Regions from separate parts of the Homo sapiens genome. Here regions 1, 2, 3, 4, 5 and 7 are each linked to region 6. Evidence: promoter capture Hi-C in human tissues and cell types (Jung and others, 2019). All regions are on one chromosome and are shown on one strand. Each heading gives the region's core, a stretch centred on a gene start or on the middle of the fragment in contact. The rest is flanking DNA. Distances are from core to core; before and after follow the strand shown.

Evidence for each region. Contacts are between HindIII fragments. The study calls those that stand out against the background at their distance.
Region 1: a fragment that was not itself captured here is called in contact with the fragment with the promoter of CARS2 in region 6 in 3 of the 25 tissues and cell types used here (dorsolateral prefrontal cortex, heart right ventricle and mesenchymal stem cells).
Region 2: a contact is called between a fragment that was not itself captured here and the fragment with the promoter of CARS2 in region 6, in 1 of the 25 tissues and cell types used here (stomach).
Region 3: a contact is called between a fragment that was not itself captured here and the fragment with the promoter of CARS2 in region 6, in 1 of the 25 tissues and cell types used here (neural progenitor cells).
Region 4: a fragment that was not itself captured here is called in contact with the fragment with the promoter of CARS2 in region 6 in 1 of the 25 tissues and cell types used here (mesenchymal stem cells).
Region 5: a fragment that was not itself captured here is called in contact with the fragment with the promoter of CARS2 in region 6 in 2 of the 25 tissues and cell types used here (IMR-90 fibroblasts and thymus).
Region 7: a contact is called between a fragment that was not itself captured here and the fragment with the promoter of CARS2 in region 6, in 1 of the 25 tissues and cell types used here (lymphoblastoid cells).

Annotation. Positions count from the first base shown.
Region 1 is chr13:110,836,103-110,838,802 of GRCh38, reverse strand. No RefSeq gene overlaps it. Among named protein-coding and RNA genes, the nearest start is that of LINC00567, 24 kb to the right of the region's middle. The HindIII fragment of the contact is 6,636 bases long and covers 1-2,700 here.
Region 2 is chr13:110,517,630-110,520,329 of GRCh38, reverse strand. No RefSeq gene overlaps it. Among named protein-coding and RNA genes, the nearest start is that of COL4A2-AS1, 11 kb to the right of the region's middle. RefSeq lists an enhancer at 1,671-2,507. The HindIII fragment of the contact is 5,926 bases long and covers 1-2,700 here.
Region 3 is chr13:110,483,799-110,486,498 of GRCh38, reverse strand. COL4A2 (collagen type IV alpha 2 chain) reads right to left here. Exons shown (of 48, transcript NM_001846.4): 33 at 1,472-1,594; 34 at 663-844. Among named protein-coding and RNA genes, the nearest start is that of COL4A2-AS2, 22 kb to the right of the region's middle. RefSeq lists enhancers at 1-589, 590-1,427, 1,428-2,266. The HindIII fragment of the contact is 6,661 bases long and covers 1-2,700 here.
Region 4 is chr13:110,541,812-110,544,511 of GRCh38, reverse strand. All of the region lies in intron 1 of RAB20 (RAB20, member RAS oncogene family), which reads left to right. Among named protein-coding and RNA genes, the nearest start is that of RAB20, 19 kb to the left of the region's middle. The HindIII fragment of the contact is 3,610 bases long and covers 1-2,700 here.
Region 5 is chr13:110,857,139-110,859,838 of GRCh38, reverse strand. No RefSeq gene overlaps it. Among named protein-coding and RNA genes, the nearest start is that of PRECSIT, 12 kb to the left of the region's middle. The HindIII fragment of the contact is 3,127 bases long and covers 1-2,700 here.
Region 6 is chr13:110,704,863-110,707,562 of GRCh38, reverse strand. CARS2 (cysteinyl-tRNA synthetase 2, mitochondrial) reads left to right here and starts at 1,447. Exons shown (of 15, transcript NM_024537.4): 1 at 1,447-1,693; 2 at 1,992-2,042. The coding sequence starts at 1,470. RefSeq lists enhancers at 520-639, 650-1,029 and a silencer at 1,080-1,639. The HindIII fragment of the contact is 14,015 bases long and covers 1-2,700 here.
Region 7 is chr13:110,944,815-110,947,514 of GRCh38, reverse strand. LOC105370364 (a long non-coding RNA gene) reads left to right here. Exons shown (of 3, transcript XR_931732.3): 3 at 1,966-2,059. Among named protein-coding and RNA genes, the nearest start is that of LINC00431, 20 kb to the left of the region's middle. The HindIII fragment of the contact is 5,736 bases long and covers 1-2,700 here.

The DNA.
Region 1 (2,700 bases), core at 28-2,527, 130 kb before region 6:
TTGGGCCTTCTTTTACATTTCCTGGTACAAATATCAATGTCGGAAAATTTAACATTGACATAAAATGAATACCTAACATATAGCCCATATTCAAATTTCACCACTTGTTCCACTGTTATTTTCAGCAATTTTGAGAAGGCTCCAATCCAAGGTTGTGCATCGTAGTTGGTTGCTGGTTGTTTTTTGTTTGTTTTCGTCACTTTCAACCTGTGGGACATCCTCAGCCTTTCATGGTCCCTCATGACATTGATTCTTTGTTATGAGTACAGACCAGTTATTCTGTAGAATGTCCTTCAGTTTGGGTTTGTCTGAAGTTCCCTCATGATTGGATCAGGTTATCTATTTTTGGCTGGAATCGCCAACGGATAAACATTTGATTTATGGTGTAAATGATGTTGGGCTCCCATCAGCGCGTTGTTGTCAGAAGACACGTGGTGTTGATTTTCTCCTTACTGTTGACGTTAACTTTGATTATGTGGCTAAAATGATGTCCGCCAGCTTTTTCCACTGTAAAGTTACTGTTGTTCTATTTATAACTAATGAACAATTTGTGTCTGTGGAAGGGGTTACTTTGAAACTATTGCAAACTGTGGGGGAAAGAAAAAGAGATCAGACTGTTACTGAGTCTACGTAGAAAAAGGAAGGCATAAGAAACTACATTTTGATCTGTACTAAGAGAAATTCTTCTGCCTTGAGATGCTGTTAATCTGTGACCCTAGCCCCAACTCTGTGCTCGCAGAAACAGGTGCTGTATTGACTCAGGTTTAATGGATTTAGGGCTGTGCAGGATGTGCCTTGGTAAACATGTGTTTGTAGGCAGTATGCTTGGTAAAAGTCATCGCCATTCTCCTTTCTTGACTACCCAGGGACACAGTGTACTGTGGAAGGTCGCAGGGACCTGTGCCCAAGAAAGCCTGGGTATTGTCCAAGTTTTCCCCCAACTGAGACAGCCTGAGATATGGCCTTGTGGGAAGGGAAAGATCTTACCATCCCACAGCCCGACACCCATAAAGGGTCTGTGCTGAGAAGGATTAGTGAAAGAGGAAGGCCTCTTTGCAGTTGAGATAAGAGGAAGGCATCTGTCTCCTGCTCATCCCTGGGAATGGAATGTCTTGGTGTAAAACCCGATCATACATTCTATTTACTGAGATAGGAGAAAACTGCCTTGTGGCTGGAGGTGAGACATGCTGGCAGCAATACTGCTCTTTACTGCACTGAAATGTTTGTGTAAAGTCAAACATAAATCTGGCCTATGTGCACATCCAGGCACAGCACCGTTCCTTAAACTTATTTATGACACAGACTCCTTTGCTCACATGTTGTCCTGCTGACCCTCTCCCCACCATTACCCTACAGTCCTGCCACATCCCCTCATCAAGATAGTAGAGATAGTGATCAATAAATACTGAGGAACTCAGAGACCAGTGCTGGTGCAGGTCCTCACTTGCTGAGCGCCAGTCCCCACTTTTCTTCCTCTGTACTTTGTCTCTGTGTCTTATTTCTTTTTTCGGTCCCTCGTCTCCACCTTGCGAGAAATACCCACAGGTGTGGAGGGGCAGGCCCCCTTCAGTAAACTACAAATAACATCCTAAACCCCCCAACTGACTGAACGGACCCCTTTTTGGCCAATGGAACCCCAGAGAAACCTCAAAAACTGAGTTCCCAGCCATGATCAGGTGGGAGATTGGAGACGCCTCATTACACCCCCTTCTTTTTTCAGTTCAGACACAACTGACCAGCATTAACGTTAAAATAGAGATAGTAAAACTGATTGAATGAACTCTTTGTAACAATAAGATATCGAATTATAAACTAGACCTCAGGCCATGCCTGGCAAAGGTTAAGTCACCCACCCCTACACTTAAAGAGTAAGTCTATGTTCTACTCGCCACAAGGTATTTTTTTTAATTCCTTTTTCTCTAGCAGATAATCAAGCACTGGCCTTGAGTTAAGCAATGCTGAAGCAGCTGCAGCCCACCCACCACCAGACTCTGACTGACTGACTCCCAACTCCACCAGCTATAGCTACAGCTTTGATCGGACAAGAGACTGATTTCAGTAACTTTCTCCTGATCAGAGATCACTGACCATGGCCTGGTTCTGGCTGGTTTACAGAGGCTGCACACTCAGTGCCGTTAAGTCCCTGCCTCAAATTTTGACATACAGGTGAACATGTCATACATGGAACATATATGTTTGCTTATCATACATGCACAGAACTCCCCTTCATGAATATTCATAACCCCCTCTATATCTTGTTGAATATGTATACTCGGCCAGCCTACCCCACCCCTCCCTCCCTAGAAGTGCTTGCTTTCATTCTTTTAGCCTGAGACTGCACTTCCTGCTTGCAGGTTGTAATTCCCTTCTTAAGAAATACGGCTCTCCTTTCTAAATTTATAAAGTGTGTGATTTTAAGTTAACACCATGTAAATATGTTGCTTCTCATTACTCTTTGCAGAATAGTTTTAGTATGTATTGATGATTCTTGCTCAAGTTAAATATTAACGTGGTGTTTGCAAAATGTTGATTTTCTAACTCCGTCAGTCCTTCCAAATTTATTAATTGGCATTCTACTTTAAGTAATGTTCCCTCTTTCCCTCCTCCTTTACCTTCCTTCTTCTCTCCCTCCCTCCCTTCCTTCCTTCTTTCCTCTCTTTTTAAGGTGGATCATTAATTCTTATTTTGTTTAATGGTTTA
Region 2 (2,700 bases), core at 119-2,618, 190 kb after region 6:
ACACGGGTTCTCTCCCCAGCACGTGGATTCCCCCAGTACATGGATACCACCAGCACATGGATCCCCCCAGCACATAGGTCCCCCCAGCACACAGGTTCTCCCCAGCACACGGGTTCCCTCCCCGGCACACGGCTTCCCTCCCCAGCACACGGATCTCCCCAGCACACGGGTCTCCCCAGTACATGGATCCCCCCAGCACGTAGGTCCCTCCAGCACACAGGTCCCTCCAGCACACGGCTCCCCCCCAGCACACGGATCCCCCCAGCACACGGATACCACCAGCACACGGGTTCCCCCTCCCCCAGCACACAGATCTCCCTAGTATACGGGTCCCTCCAGCACACGGGTCCCCCTAGCACACGGATCCCCATAGCACACGGGTGCTCCCAGCACATGGATCCCTCCGGCAGAGGTGAGCTGCTGCTCAAGGCCCATGAGACAGACCCCATGAGACATGGAGATGGTGCCTGTCTTCCAGAGAGAAGGGGCAATGGCTCTGAGCTCGGCCTTCACTCCGTGCTCCTGGGAGACTCTAACCAGGCTGAGTCCCTCCTGAGCAATGACCACAAACCTCTGAAGAAGGAAGAAGAGTGGGACCCGGGCCCCAGAGACCCTGGTGGGAGTGCCGTGGTGTGGCCTCCAGGTGTTTGGAGGATTTCAAAGGCACAGATCCTCCCAGCCCTGGTTGGTGGAGTCCAGGTCGTATCTTCCCTTCTGTGGCCAGGCAGAGTGGCCGGTGCCCTCGTCCTCTTACATGCCCTTATTAGAAGCACAGACTCTTCTCCACAGTGTGCAGGGGTCTTCCATCCTCCCACTTCACAGAGCTGGATCTTTCGAGCCTCATTGTCGAAACAGGACAGAGAGGATGGGTGTGGTGGGTGGACGCACAGCTGAGACCCTGCTCACACAGCTGAGACCCTGCACACACGCACAGCTGAGACCTTGCTCACACAGCTGAGACCCTGCATGCACGCACAGCTGAGACCCTGCACGTGCGCACAGCCGAGACCCTGCATGCATAGCCAAGACCCTGCACGCACAGCAGAGACCCTGCACGCACAGCAGAGACCCTGCACACATGCACAGCTGAGACCCTGCTCACACAGCTGAGACCCTGCATACACAGTCGAGACCCTGCACACACGCACAGCTGAGACCCTGCTCACACAGCTGAGACCCTGCATGCACGCACAGCTGAGACCCTGCACGCACGCACAGCCGAGACCCTGCACGTGTGCACAGCCGAGACCCTGCATGCATAGCCAAGACCCTGCACGCACAGCAGAGACCCTGCACATACATGTGCCGCCTGCACTCAGCCTCCTCTGTGCCTGCTCTGGAAGCTCTTGGGCCCAGTCCTCCCTTGTGGTCCAGGCTGCCTCCTTCAGGGAGAGCTGACGCCTTCAGAGCAAGCGTCCTTGCGTGGTTATGAAGCTCTGTGTCCCTCCCCTTCACTTTGTGTTTGCCTTGAAGCCACTGGCCCAGCCCTCAGGTATCGGATCTGGAGGGCACCTTGCTGGAGGATATGTGGACCCAAGGCCCGAGAAGGTGCCTCCTGGGTCAGGGTGTCAGTGGCCGGAGTGAGACACGCCCAGGCCTTGGCTCCCAGCCCCACCCACTTCCTCACCAGGCCCTCCCAGCTCAGTCTACGTTGGCTGTTTTCTTGGGATGTCATTGTGGAAGGTCCTGCCTGGGGCATGGCGGCTTGGGAATCTGAGCCTCGGACTTTCAATGCCACGTTCCAGTTGCTGCCATGTGTTTCCTCCCCTAAAGGTGGGCTTGGTTGTTCGGGCTGCAAATGGTGGATACCCACGGATCCAGGACAAGCCTCAGCCCCTTTTTTTATCCTCCATCCAGATTTTCCCACCGGGAGAAGGCATGGGGGCCTGGAATGCTGTCTCTTGGGAGCTGGTCTCAGTTAAGTAACCAGGGTTGGCTCGTGCCTGCTCTTGGTCTGAAGGTGGCAGGCCTGGGACTGGCCACTGTCATCCCCAGTAGCACTTCCAAACCCCCTCCCTCAGCCTCACTGCGTGGCGACCTCATTCACCAGCCCCTGTGTGGCGGGCGGCTCCCATGGCCAGGGGCGAGCTCTCTCTGCTTTGAGGGAGGTGTGAGAGCCCCCTGGACAGAGTCCTCATAATCTGAATGCAAGAATTCCTTTCCCAGGAATCCTGCAGATAAAATGGATTATGTTTGTGAGTGTACAGTTAAGAATAAGCCAGCTCAAGGCAAAAGAATGGGTCCCACCCAGAGGAGAAGCGGGGTCCTGTCCCATGTGGGATGAAATGGCCTCTGCAGGAATGGCTCCAGCTTTAGGGCTGGTTTATGCCGTCACAGGACCCACATCTTCTAAGTGGCCTCCACCCCATCTGCCCTTTGTTCTTGTACTTTGGCCATAAATGCGAGGAGAAGGTCCCTGAGTCACCCTTGCATGTGGCAAGGTCCTCTCAAGTGTGAATCTGCAGGTGGGGTGGGGGAAGAGGGCTCCTGGGTGTATTTTAAACTCGGGAAGACAGCAGTCCCCTCCTGCCCCATCCCATGTGGCTTTGCAGCTGCAGCCTCTCATCTCTAAGTGTTCCTGGCCTCTGAGAAGAACCTAGTTAATTAAAATGGGCTTGTACAATGAAATTGTGAAATACCCCTCAGGTGCAGGGACTCTCGAGTATGTGGAAATGACCCCACCCTTTGAGGCTTCTGGAC
Region 3 (2,700 bases), core at 159-2,658, 220 kb after region 6:
TCATATGAACGAGGCTAGAAATGGAATTCTAGGAAACGGAATCTATGGGGAGCCACGCTGTGCTATGTTATACACACTGTCTATACAGCACTCAAGAAAACTGCAAGGTAGCTACTACCTTCATTCTGCAGCTGAGGGAGAAGGTGTGGAGAAGAGAGCCCTGCCCAGGGTCAGGGCTCACCATTGTTACCATCACAACAGCGTGTCTGGCCCATGTCAAGTGCTCAACAGACATCCGCTGAACAAAGGCTGAGTGAACGGTGGCCCGGATGGGAAGCCAGGCTGCCGGGCCCAGGTCTACGCTGTGATTCGGCCATGGGCTCTCAGGCCTGGTGTCACTGATGTGCTCAATTTTAGAGCTCTGATCCCTGAAAATTCAAGTTTTGTTCTCTCAAGGCCACCATGAAAAATGCAGACAACATGCTTCACCCAGCACAAGCCCACAGAAGGGCCACGGCAGCCGGTTGGACTCACATCACATCTGCATGGTGTCCAAGTGCAGCAGCTCCTTCCAGGGCTGTGTGGACCCCACCAAGCCTGAGGCTGCCCTGAACCTGCCACTGACACTCTCACCCTAGCAAATTCCAGACCAAAGCATGTCCATTCACAAGCAAAGGGGAGAGGAGCTCACAGAACAAGGGGAGTAAAAGACGCCCACTCACCCGGCTTCCTATGAATCCTGGGAATCCCGTAATTCCAGGGGGGCCAGCCACCCCAGGGAATCCTGGCAAACCGGGGATGCCGGGGACTCCGATGTCTCCCTTGACTCCTTTGATGTGGCCGGGCCTCCCAGGCAGCCCAGGGATTCCTGACAGCCCTGGGATGCCTGGCATTCCTTGGATACCTGCAGGAAGACCCTGGTGTGTAACACTCTGGTGAGGACGCAGCACCCGCCCTCCAGTTTTCAATTTTGCAGCCTGGATGCATTTTGCTGTCCTACGTGCTGTGAATCTTTTTTTTTTTTTTTTTTTTTTTTGAGACGGAGTCTCGCTCTGTCGCCCAGGCTGGAGTGCAGTGGCGCAATCTCGGCTCACTACAAGCTCTGCCTCCCCGGTTCACGCCATTCTCCTGCCTCAGCCTCCTAAGTAGTTGGGACTACAGGCGCCCACCACCATGCCGGCTAATTTTTTTGTATTTTTAGTAGAGACGGGGTTTCACCGTGTTAGCCAGGATGGTCTTGATCTCCTCACCTTGTGATCCACCCGCCTCGGCCTCCCAAAGTGCTGGGATTACAGGCGTGAGCCACCGCGCCCGGCCAGTGCTGCAAATCTTAAGATGGGAAACCGAGGTTACTCAGGCATCAGAGAACAACCCTGCGCCAGCTATGGACACACAGGGCGCCCAGAGATGAAAAGCACGAAGAAAGCCAGGTGGAGGGCACGGGCGTCTCTGGGGACGGAGAAGGGCACGAGCTGGTGCGGGCTGGGGCGGCAGGGACTAGGGGCCCCTGGCTGCAGGTCAGAAGCCTCACCTTTTGCGCCCAGGTATCCTTTCAGCCCCATAGGCCCTTCATCTCCTTTCTCTCCTTTAATGTCTTTCATTCCTGGCAGGATGACAGGAGGTGGTCCTGGGGGCCCAGGGTCCCCTCGGCTGCCTGGAAGGGAATAGAGTGCTGTCATTTTCTGGGGGCTCCAGACCACGCAGGAGAACACAGGTGAAGGCCTGGTCCCTGAGCCATAGGGCTGCACGTCTCCCCCAAGCAGGGAAGCCTTGGAGAGAGACCAAGGGCGCCGGAGAAGCCTCTCCTGTGTCCATCGGAGTAGTTGGAGTTGGGGGTGGCTCCAGGGTCCTGGGCCTGGGGCTGGTGTCACTGAGCACACAGCACCACAGTAGGGGGACGTGCCTGCCAGCAGATGCAGAGGGAGCGGTCAAAGCCAGTGTGACTCCCATAGGATGCTTTGTGAGAAGGTCATTTTGTTGTGTGTGCTCTGATGAGACCATGATGGACCTCGGTCACAAGCAGGAAGGCCCGTGAGGCAGGCGCCAGCTCCGTGCCCTCCTGTAGGCACCTTCACAGGGAGGAGAAGCATGGAAGGGAGGTCTCCGGGGGGTTCTGAGGAGCTGAGAAATTGCAGGAGGGGAGGGGCCCAGAGCTGCGGGCCGGGCGGGAAACTGTGCTAGTTCAGGCTGGGGATGCCCCGGAATCCATGCTCACTGGAGGAGTAAGTGAAATCTGGCTCAGTGAAAATAATTGAGCTTCAGTCTCTAAGCATTTACTGTGTATTCAGTACTAGGCTAGAGGCTGATGGGATCAAAATCATAAATTGGTCCTGACCCCACAGAGCGTGCCCACCAGTGGAGGGACAGACACCCCCATGGTTAACTTCACCCTAAGGAGGCTCGAGGAAATAATTACCATGGAGCTGAAAATTACTTAATCTTAAAATGTCATTTTTTTTTTTTGCCTGAAATAGCCTGAAATCTCTGCTAACAGGAAGACTATTTGAAAGCACAAGTGTGAGTAAAAATCTTAAAAAAAATGAGCACCCTAGATTGCAATTTTTATTTTGCTGAAAATTTGTAAAAGCTGTAAGTCTGAAGAGTAATTAAGGTTTTCCAAAACAGCTTATTGATGTATAATTTATATACCCTACAACTCGCTCCAGTAAACAGAACAATTACATAACTTTAGTGTACTCACAGAGCTGTGAGCAAGCAGCACCGTCTAACTTGAGAACACTTTATCCCAGAAAATGAAAC
Region 4 (2,700 bases), core at 97-2,596, 160 kb after region 6:
ATGTGTCAAGGTAGAATTGCTTTAAAATCCCACTCATAGATTCAATGCAATCACTATCATAATTCCAATGGCATTTTTTACAGAAATAGAAAAAAATTCTAAAATTTATGTGGAACCACAGAAGACCCAAAATAGCCAGCAAAATTCTTGCTCAATTTTGAGCAATAATAAAGCTGGAAGCATCACACTGCCTGACTTCAAAATATGCTACAAAGCTATAGTAATCAAAACAGCATGACCTCAGCATGAAAACAGACACATTGACCAATGGAACAGGGTAGAGTGCCCAGAAACAAATCCACACGTTTACTGTTAGTTGATCTTTGACAAAGATGCCAAGAACCTTTGGGGGAAAGGACAGCCTCTTCAATAAATGGTACCAGGGAAACTGGATATCCATATGCACAACGAAACCAGACCCTTGTCTCACACCATATACAAAAATCAGGCTGGGTGCCTGTAATCCCAGCATTTTGGGAGGCTGACGTGGGTGGATCGCTTAAGTCAGGAGGAGTTTGAGACCAGCCTGGCCAACAAGGTGAAACCACATCTCTACTAAAAATACAAAAATTGGCCGGGTGTGGTGGCAGGTGCCTGTAATCCTGCTACTCAGGAGGCCAAGGCAGGAGAATCAGTTGAACCTGGGAGGCAGAGGTTGCAGTGAGCCGAGATCGCACCACTGTACTCCAGCCTGGGTGACAGAGTGAGACTCCGTCTCAAAAAAAAAAAAAAAAAAATAACCCACATTTGATTAAAGAGTCAAGCATAAGACCTGAAACTATAACTATTAGAAGAAAACATAAGAAAAAAGCTTTGCAGTATTGGTCTGGCTAATGATTCTTTTTTATGTGACTCCAGAAAGCACAGAGAACAAAAGCAAAAATAGACAAATGGGATTGCATCAAACCAAAAAGCTTCTGCAGAACAGAAGAAACAACCAACAGAATAAAGAGAGAACATCCAGAATGGGAGGAGATATTTGGAAAGCATACAGCTGATAAGGGATTAATATCCAAAATATATAAGGAACTCAAACAACTGAGTAACAAGAAAACAACCAGATTAAACAATGAGCAAAGGGCCAGGTGCCGTGGCTCTCACCTATAATCCCAGCACTTTGGGAGGCCGAGGTGTCAGAGGATCACTTGAGGCCAGAAGTTCAAGAACAGGCTGGGCAACATAGTGAGACCCTGTCTCTACAAAAAAATAAGAAAAATTAGCCAGGGGAGGTGGTGCACATCTGTAGTCCCACCTACGTGGGAGGCTGAGGCAGGAGGATCGCTTGAGTTTGAGGTTACAGTGAGCCAAGATCACACCACCGCACTCTAGCCTGGGTGACAGAGTGAGACTTTGTCTCTAAAATAAAAATAAAAAAAAATAAAATGAGCAAAGGTCCTGAACTGAATAGACATTTCTCAAAAGAAGACATACAAATGGCCAACAGGTATATGAAAAAATGTTCAATATGACTAATTGCAGAGACAGCCAAGTTAGCAGTACAGTGAGCTGTCAGGTCGCACCTGTTAGAATGGCTGTCATCAGAAAGACAAAGGGTAAGTGCTGGTGAGGATGTGGAGACAAGAGAACCCCGCACATTGCTGGTGGGAATGTGAACGGGTATGGCCGCGGTGGAAGACATGATGGTTCCTCAAAAAATTAAAACTAGAACAAATGATCCAGCAGTCCCACTGCTGGGTATCTGTCTAGAAGAAAGGAAATCAGTATTTCTCAGAGATGTCTGCACTCCCGTGTTCACAGTAGCCAAGATACAGAATCAACCTAAGCTTCCACTGATGTGCACGGATCAAGAAAATGTGGTAAATATACACCGTGGAGTATTATCCAAGCTTGGAAAAGGGAGAAATCCTGTTGTTTGTGAACCCGGAGGACATCATGGTAAGTGAAATAAACCAGATACCGAAAGACAAATACCACATAGTCTCACTGATGCCTGGCATCTGAACAAGTTGAACTCACTGAAGCAGAGTGGAATGGTGGTTACAAGGAGCTGGCAGGTGGGTGGGGAGAGGGAATTGGGGAGTTTTTAATCAAAGGCTACGAAGGTTCAGTTCTGCAGGCTGAATAAGTTCTGGAGGTCTAATGTAGAGCCCCAGGCAGGTGACTGTAGTTAACCAGTACCATGTGATAGGCTTGAAATTGGCTGAGAGGGTGGAGTTTCAATGTTCTGTCTGCACACCCATGGTAGCTATGTGCAGTGATAGATGTGTTAATTAGCTTAATAGGGTAATCATTTCATGATACATCAAAATATCATGTTGTACATCTGAAATATTTACAAATTTTGCTTGTCATTTATACCCCAGTAAAGCTGAGAATAAAATACAGCAAGCGTTCTGATTAAAAACAAAACAAAACTCGTCATCCTGCATGTTGTGCACATGTACCCTAAAACTTAAAGTATAATAATAATAAAATTAAAACAAAACAAAACAAAAACAAAACCAACAAACACCCTTATTATTTGGCAGTTCCTTCCCCAGGCTGTTTGCACCCCGTTCCTGCTGATGGTGGCCACTGGTTACTGTCTCCGTGTGTGAGCATCTGGGGTCTCTGATTCCAGATGTGTGAAATGTGGACACAGTGGGGAGAAAGAAATGCAACTGTGAGTATGTGTATGTGTGCATGGCATGTACGTGCATGTATGTGAGAGTGTGTGTGTGTGTGTGTGTGTGTGGCTGG
Region 5 (2,700 bases), core at 40-2,539, 150 kb before region 6:
ACTGGAGGTTTTTCCTGGTGCAATAAGGTGAGGAAATAAAAATGATTGGGTAGGAAAAAAAATTCTATTAGTGGATGATATGATTTTGTATGTAGAAAGCTTAAAAGACTTCAAATATAATTAGAATTAATAAGTGAGTTTAAATCATTTATGGGTGCAGGGTCAACATTTTTTTTTTGCGATAGGGCCTCACTCTGTCACCCAGGCTGGAGTGCAATGGTGTGACCAGAGCTCACTGCAGCCTTGACCTCCGGGGCTCAAGCAATTCTCCTACCTCAGCCTCTGGAGTAGCTGGGACTACAGATGCACACCACAACGCCCAGCTATAGGGTCAACTTTTTTTTTTTTTAGTTGTATTTCTATACACCAGTAACAAACAGAAACCTCAGTTTAATCAGGAACGCCAGTTTTAAAAACATCGACTATCAAATATATTTAACATAAGGTATGCAATAGTTCTGTGCAGAAACAGCATTATTGTGAGAAATAAATACTAAATAAATGGAGGAGATACTGAATTGAAAAGATGATGTCATAAAGAAGTTAGTTCTCCCTGAATGATGCTCAGGTAGCTGAAATTGCAATGGAAATAAATATCAATGGATTTTTACAGGCAGTTGTGTGGGGAATGATCTCCATGCAAGCATGCTCTCAAGGTCACTCTCAGATAGGTGATCCCAGAGGCCACAAAACACACAGCCTCAGAGCAAATGAAGACAAATGAACCCTTCACTTTATTACTCCCATTTAAAGCATGTAGTGAGAAGAAGGGGATGCTCTGGGCTCAGCACAAGCAGCATGCGGGCAGGGGATACAGAGGCCCCACCTGGAGTCTCTGCTGCCTCAACCAGACAGTCCCCTGACTGCCTGGGTGTGAGTCCAGGGCTTGAGGTTGGTCCTGGGTTGATGAAAACACTTGCTCTTGGACAGCACAGATCCAACCTAGAGTAACTTATGGAACAAGTGACCTAGTTCCTTCAGCAAATAAATTGCTGAGGAAAATGAGTAAAATATAGGGGTGAACTGATATTAAAAGAGCCTTAGGAGATGTGTCAGCCAACGGCAATGCAGGGAGCTTTTCTGGACCTCACTTCAAACAAACTAAAATCAAAGCATTTGTGAGACAAGTGGGGAAATTTGAACCCTAGATACTTAATGATATTAATAAATTATTGTTAATATTGATCTGTATTTTAGGAGTCCTTATCTTTCCATGATATGTACTGAAATACTTATAAATGGTGTTTGAAATTTTTGTAAAATTTTTTAACTTGAATTTTTAAAAAATAAGAGCTTTTGATCATCAAAATGCAATATTAAGAGAATAGAAGGGCAAGCCAGGAAATGGAAGAAACATATGTAACTGACAAGAAGATTGCATCAGGAGTTTATATTACAATCTCATATGTCAATTAGAAAAAGACAAACAATCCATAATAAAATATGTAAGAGGCTTGAACAGGCACTTCACAAAAAATGAACAAATAAATAGAAGTATCCAGTTGGCCAATAATCATATTGATGGATGATCCATTTCATCATTAAGTAGTGAGAGAAATGCAGATTAAACCACACCAAGGTATCACTTTACACCCACCAGAGCAGCTAAAATTAAAAACACTGACATTATCAAATGCTGATAAGGATATAGCAATGGGAACTCTAATACACCCTTGGTCAGAGTGTAAATTGTAAAGCCATTTTGGGAAACAGTTGAACATTATTTCCTGACATTTAACATACACTTCCCTGTGACCTAGCAATTCTCCTCCTAAACATTTATTTAACAGAGAAATATGCAGATCTGCAACAGCAGACATGTCCAAGAACGTTCATAGTTCCATTAGTCCCAACACCCTAAAACTGGAAACAGCCCCAATGTCCGTCAAAAGTAAAATGAATAGAGAAATTGTAGCATGTGCATACAATGGAATACGGAACTATAATGGAGTTATCTTTTAAGAAAAATGGAAGAAGTCCAACTATACCCAGTAATAAATATAGTCTTATAAGCATAAGGTTAAGCAAAAGAAGCTTAACACAAAATAATTTATGCAGTTCCATTTTCATAAAGACAAGTACAGGAAAGGTTAGGATATGCTGTAGTGTTCCCCCAACATAGGCTAAATGTCATCTGCCTTTTCAATGGTTTCTTAGGTTTCACAGGCTCCATTTCTTCACCATCTGATCTCTTCCCCCTGCACAAGCACCCCATGTGTCTGACCTCCTCACAGAAAACACCATTTCCTGAGTGTGGTCTGACCAGAGAAAAGCATGTGGTGACAGAAAAAAGCAGGTTTTCACACTGCTGATAACAACCTACCTAAGACTGGGCAATTTACAAAAGGAAGAGTTTTAATTGGACTTACCGTTCCATATGGCTGGGGAAGCCTTACAATCACGGTGGAAGGCAAGGAGGAGCAAGTCACATCTTACATGGATGGCAGCAGGCAAAGAGCCAGAACTTGTGCAAGGAAACTCCGCCTTATAAAGCCATCATATCTCATGAGACTCATTCACTATCATGAGAACAGCACAGGAAAGACCTGCCCCCATGATTCAATTACTTCCCATCAGGTCCCTCCCACAACATGTGGGAATTCAAGATGAGATTTGGGTGGGGACACAGCCAAACCATATCATGGTGGCTTTAAAAGGTGGAGTTTAATTCTCCTCCTCTTGGATGGTGGTTGGACTTCA
Region 6 (2,700 bases), core at 198-2,697:
CGATTCTCTTGTCTCAGCCTCCCCAGTAGCTGGGACTACAGATGCACGCCACCACGCCCGGCTAATTTGTGTATTTTTAGTAGAGACGGGGTTTCACCATATTGGTCAGGCTGGTCTCGAACTCCTGACCTCAGGTGATCCATCCGCCTCAGCCTCCCAAAGTGCTGGGATTACAGGTGTGAGCCACTGCGCCTGGCCCAATAGAGGCACGTTTGTCAAGCTATTGTGAGTAACTTTCAGAATGTTTTTGTTCTCAAGATACGGGATCATGGTGGGGGAGGCATGCTGTGTATTGGAGTGCAGACATGGTGTGTGTTGGGTTGCACACTGTGTATTGGGGTGCACACTGTATTGGGGTGTAGATGTGTGGGGGCGCACACTCTATTGAGGTGCACATTGCATTGGAATGCAGACAGTGTTTGCTGGGATGCACATGTGCTGTGTTGGGGTGCACACTGTACTGGGGTGCAGACATGGTGTGTGTTAGAGTGCACAGTGTATTAGGGGTGCACACTGTATTGGGGTGTACACTGTACTGGGGTGCAGACATGGTGTGTGCTGGGGTGCACACTGTATTGGAGTGCACACTGTATTGGGATGCTGATGTGGTGTGTGCTAGGGTGCATACTGTGTATTGGGGTGCAGACTGTATGCTGGGTTGCACACTGTGTATCGGGGTGCACTGTGTTGGGATGCTGATGGTGTGCTGCAGTGCACACTATTGGGGTGCAGATGTGTGTGCTGGGGTGCACACTGTATTGGGGTGCACACTGTATTGGGATGCTGATGTGTGTGCTGGGGTGCATACTGTGTATTGGGGTGCACACTTCTTGGGGTGCAGACTGTGTGTTGGGTTGCACATTGTGTATCGGGGTGCACTGTGTTGGGATGCTAACGGTGTGCTGCAGTGCACACTGTATTGGGGCGCAGATGTGTGTTTGGGGTGCACACTGTATTGGGGTGCACACTGTATTGGGGTGCTGACGTGTGTTCTGGGGTGGACACTGTGTATTAGCGTGCTGACGTGGGCTGTGCTGGGATGCACACGTGCTTCGCTAACAGGCCAGGGCCCGGCAACAGAAGCTTGCACTGTAAACGCTCCTCCCGCGCGGCGGACACAGCTCCAGGCTGGTACCGCGCGCACACGGACGCCTCGCAGGACCTGGGCTAATAAGGAGAGGAGATCGGCACGGTACCGCCTCTTCCCACGGCCTCCCGGCGCGGCACCGCCCTCCTCCCTCCACCCCGGGCCTTCCCCGCCCCAACCTCTTCGGGCCCTGGTTCTCCACCCTTGCCGCGGGCGACTCGAGCCAGGCCAAAGGGAGGCGCTACCTGAGGACTGCTTCCGGGAGTGGGCGTGGCCCCAAGGGCGTGGGCGGGGCGGGGCGGGGCCGTGCTGCTCTTGAGCGACCGGCAGCGTACCCGGCGTGGCTCCCGTCTCCGCCCAGTCGTAGGCGCTGGCCGCTGACATGTTGAGGACTACGCGCGGCCCAGGCCTGGGCCCCCCGCTGCTCCAGGCCGCGCTGGGCCTTGGGCGGGCTGGGTGGCACTGGCCTGCGGGCCGGGCGGCGAGCGGGGGGCGCGGGCGGGCCTGGCTGCAGCCCACGGGCCGGGAGACGGGTGTGCAGGTGTACAACAGCCTCACCGGGAGGAAGGAACCCCTAATCGTGGCGCACGCCGAAGCCGCCTCCTGGTGGGCCGCGCGGGACTGGGGCACGGGCGGGGGCCGATCGTGGCGGAGACTTCCCACGGCTGAACGGGATCTGGGCTCGGGGAGGGCGTTTAGGAAGCTGCATGGAGGGCGCCGTTCTAGAAGCTGGGGGTGCGCGGTGCTTTTGCAGGTTTGGGTGTGAATTGAGCAAGTATGAAAACCCCGGCTATTCATCCCCCAGAAGTGATTACTTTAAAAATTATATGATCATTATAACTCAGAATCGAATGTCCTTTCTTGCAAATATGTTCCACACGATGGATTTTAACTTTGTTTCCAGGTATAGCTGTGGACCAACTGTATATGATCATGCGCACCTTGGCCATGCTTGGTGAGTTTCCTGGATTTGAATTTTCATACTTCAAAGGACCATTTATTTTTGAAAGCCTTTTGCTGATTTCTTTTATCTCTTAAGTGGCAACTTAGGGATGCAGAATAATTCCTACATTCCAGGCATTGTGGGAAATGTTACAACCTCATTTGGTTCTTATAGGGATTCTGAGCACTTACACCCGTTTTACAGGTGAGGAAACTCAGGGAGACAATGGAGCACTGAAAAATGACCCGTTTTGGAACTAGATGTTTTTTGCTGGGTTTAGTGACATCAAGAGGCCTTTGCGGGGTCCCGGGGTCCTGCTGATCAGTCATTCCTGGGCCCCACCACTTCTTAGCTTCACAGCACTGAGCAGGTCACTTTATTGCTTTGAGTCCTGGTTTCTTCATCTTTGAGATGGGAATGATAACTTGGATCTTATAACAATTTTAGTAAATAATGCCCATAAAATGCTGCTTAACACTGTACCTCACATGTGAGATGTCACGGGGCTCAATAGTGATTGAGTAACTTTCCTAAGATGACACATTGAAGAGGTATTGGAACTGGGGTGAGGCTTGGTTTCTCTGACTGCGAAGTGGTTGCTCTCTTGACCTCTTTAACTGTAAGATGTACTGCCTCCTACATTTGCCAAAATTACCACTTTTCCTAATAT
Region 7 (2,700 bases), core at 193-2,692, 240 kb before region 6:
TCTGGAGCGCGTCACACCATGAATCCCGAGCTGCTGTCTGTGAACTCCAAAGACTTTGGCAAATGAGCCATTGCCGAGCCACATGGCTGGCTTTTCATAGCCCGAGCACAGAGCCAGACATTGAGACCCTGTCACCTTCACTCACCTCCACTGGTGCTTCCCAAGCACCCACCACGTGCCAGGCACTGTCCTAGGCTCTGGGGTTTCTACATAAAACAGAGAGCCCTGCCTGGGAGCTTACCTGCTAGAGAACAGTTAGGTGGGCCTCCCTGTCCCCTCTTAAAGCATTGGGGTTCTGACTTTTCCATCCAGCCTGTCGGCTGCTGCTCCCAGCCCCTCACTGTCCACAAGCGTGGGAAGCCGGCCAGCTCGTCCTTTGTTAAAATGCCGAAGAGGACGGTCCCGGGAAGCGTCGCTGGAGACCTCCCTGCTACACCAGTTGTCATCGAGCACAGGCCAGGAGCTTCTCTGAAGTGGGGCCCCTAGCCCCCCATGTTCAGACTTTGCCAGGCCAGTGTCAGTCCCAGGACCACAAAACCCCAGGCCACAAGGTCTGCTCGTGCCCCAGCAGCAGGGACCAGGCCAACACACGCGGTGTAGAAAGGGCAGTGAGCGGTCGTTCAAGCTACAGCCAATTTCCCAGATTGTGCTGCTGTCCAGGACAACCTCTGCTGCTTTAGATACAATTTCATGATTGACCTTGTCAAGATTCCAGTTCCCTGGGACTTGACTGTTCTGCAGGGAGAACCACAAATTCTCCTATAACTCTAACAGCAAAAGACAGGGGCCTCTGCACTGATGAAGCTCCTGTACGTCACCAGCACCTCTAGGTGTGGCCGTCGGCAACAGAAGCCCCGGAGGTGACAGTGGGGACTTCCAGAGCCCTGGCAATGTTGGACAGTGAAGAACCAGGAGTCCCCAACCTCCTGGTACTGACATCCCAGGAATGAGATCCACAGCCGGCCGCTGTGAGGGGAGGAGGAGGAGGACCAGCCCAGCTCCGCCAAGCTTGGAGTTGTCAATGGGTTTTGAGGGAGAATGCAGGGGAAATGACACTGGACAGGGTGGCCCCACAGGAGAGCCAAAGGCAGCCTGACGCAGCCAGCGCCCCCTCCGTCCTCCTGCCCCGGACACATCCACAGGGCTCTCCCCTCCCTCCACAACTGAGGGCTCAGTTCCTCCTGTCCCCTGGTGTCCCCCCAATCCTGCTGGTGCCCATCTCCCCTCACACTGCACGCTGCCAGGCTCATCTGAGCCCCCACCCCCATGCCCATGCCAGCCTGGCCCTCTCTGGGCCTCTTGAATCCTAGCACACCCGGAGCACCCCCAGGGGCCATCCCAGCACCTCCCACTCAGATGACCAACCGGCCTCATTCCATTCAAGGTGCCTCTCCCTGTCTCTCCTTCCAGTCACCCAGCGCCTTCCTGGGAAACTGAAAGCAAGAATTCTGCTCCCTGAGCCCCACACCCACTCATAGAGCCAGAGGATCAGGCTCTGTTGGGGGCTGGGTGGGGCTGGAGCACAGGCTTGGAGCCGGTCTGACCTGGGTTCCAATCCCAACTTGGCCCCTATGAGCTGTGTGACCTTGGGAAGACCTTGGGCAAATGACCGCGCATCCTAAGCCTTCTTCATCTTCAAAGTGGGATAATCACAGCACCTGTACTGGGTGTTGAGGAGATGGAAGGAGATGCTGTCTGCAGAGGGTTGAGTGCAGGGCCCGGCACACAGGGAGCGCTTGGTACTCACCCCCTGCACCTGGGGAAGGCCACCCTGTGCAGCCCTAAGAAGGCATCTGTGTGGGGCGTGGACACTCAAAGAAGGGGAGTCTAATGCTACCAGCCACACCCGTCAGCCTCACAGCCCATGCTTATTGGTGGAGTGAGCCACGGTGGGTCTGAAACATAGGCTCTAAGAACAGTTAATGAAACACCCAGTTTCTCAAGAAACTCTGTTCTTTCCAACAGGAGATCATCTAAAGCAGAAGAGAAAGCTGCATGAAAGTGTACTGAGAGCCAGTTACTACAGGCGGACGCCACGCCAGGCTAGGACTAGGGCCGCCGGCAGAGCCTGCACTCTCCACTCACTCCCACCCTTGGGGCAGACGCCGAATTATGGAACATTCTGTATAAAGGAAAACTGTCTTATTCTAAGGATGACAAACAAAATAAACATATTTAAATATTAAGTTAGAGGCAACATGGTTTTTTTCCTTAATAAAAAGAGATGAAAACCTAATTAACTCTGGAAAATAACAGCATTCGAAGCTTGCTATTGTCTGATAGCATAAGCTTTGAAGAAACATAACCTCAGAGCCTGCGTATTTGTCAGCGTTCTCTAGGGAAACTAATAGGATGTGCGTGTATGTGTGCGTGTGCATGTGTGTGTGCGTGTGCATGTGTGTGTGCGTGTGTGTGGATGTGTGTGCGTGAGTGTATGTGTGGTGTGTGTGTGCATGTGTATTTGTGTGTGTGAATATATGCGTGTGTGTATGTGCGTGTGTGTGAGATATTTATAATATGGAATTGGCTCATGTGATTATGGAGGCTGACAAGTCCCAAGACCTGCAGAGTCTACAAGCTGGAGACTCAGGAAGAGCTAATGTTTCAGTTCCAGTCTTAAGGCAGGAAACAGCCCATGTCCCAGCTGCAGGCAGGCAGGAGGAGTTCCGTGTATTCAGAGCAGAGCCAGCCTCTGTCCTG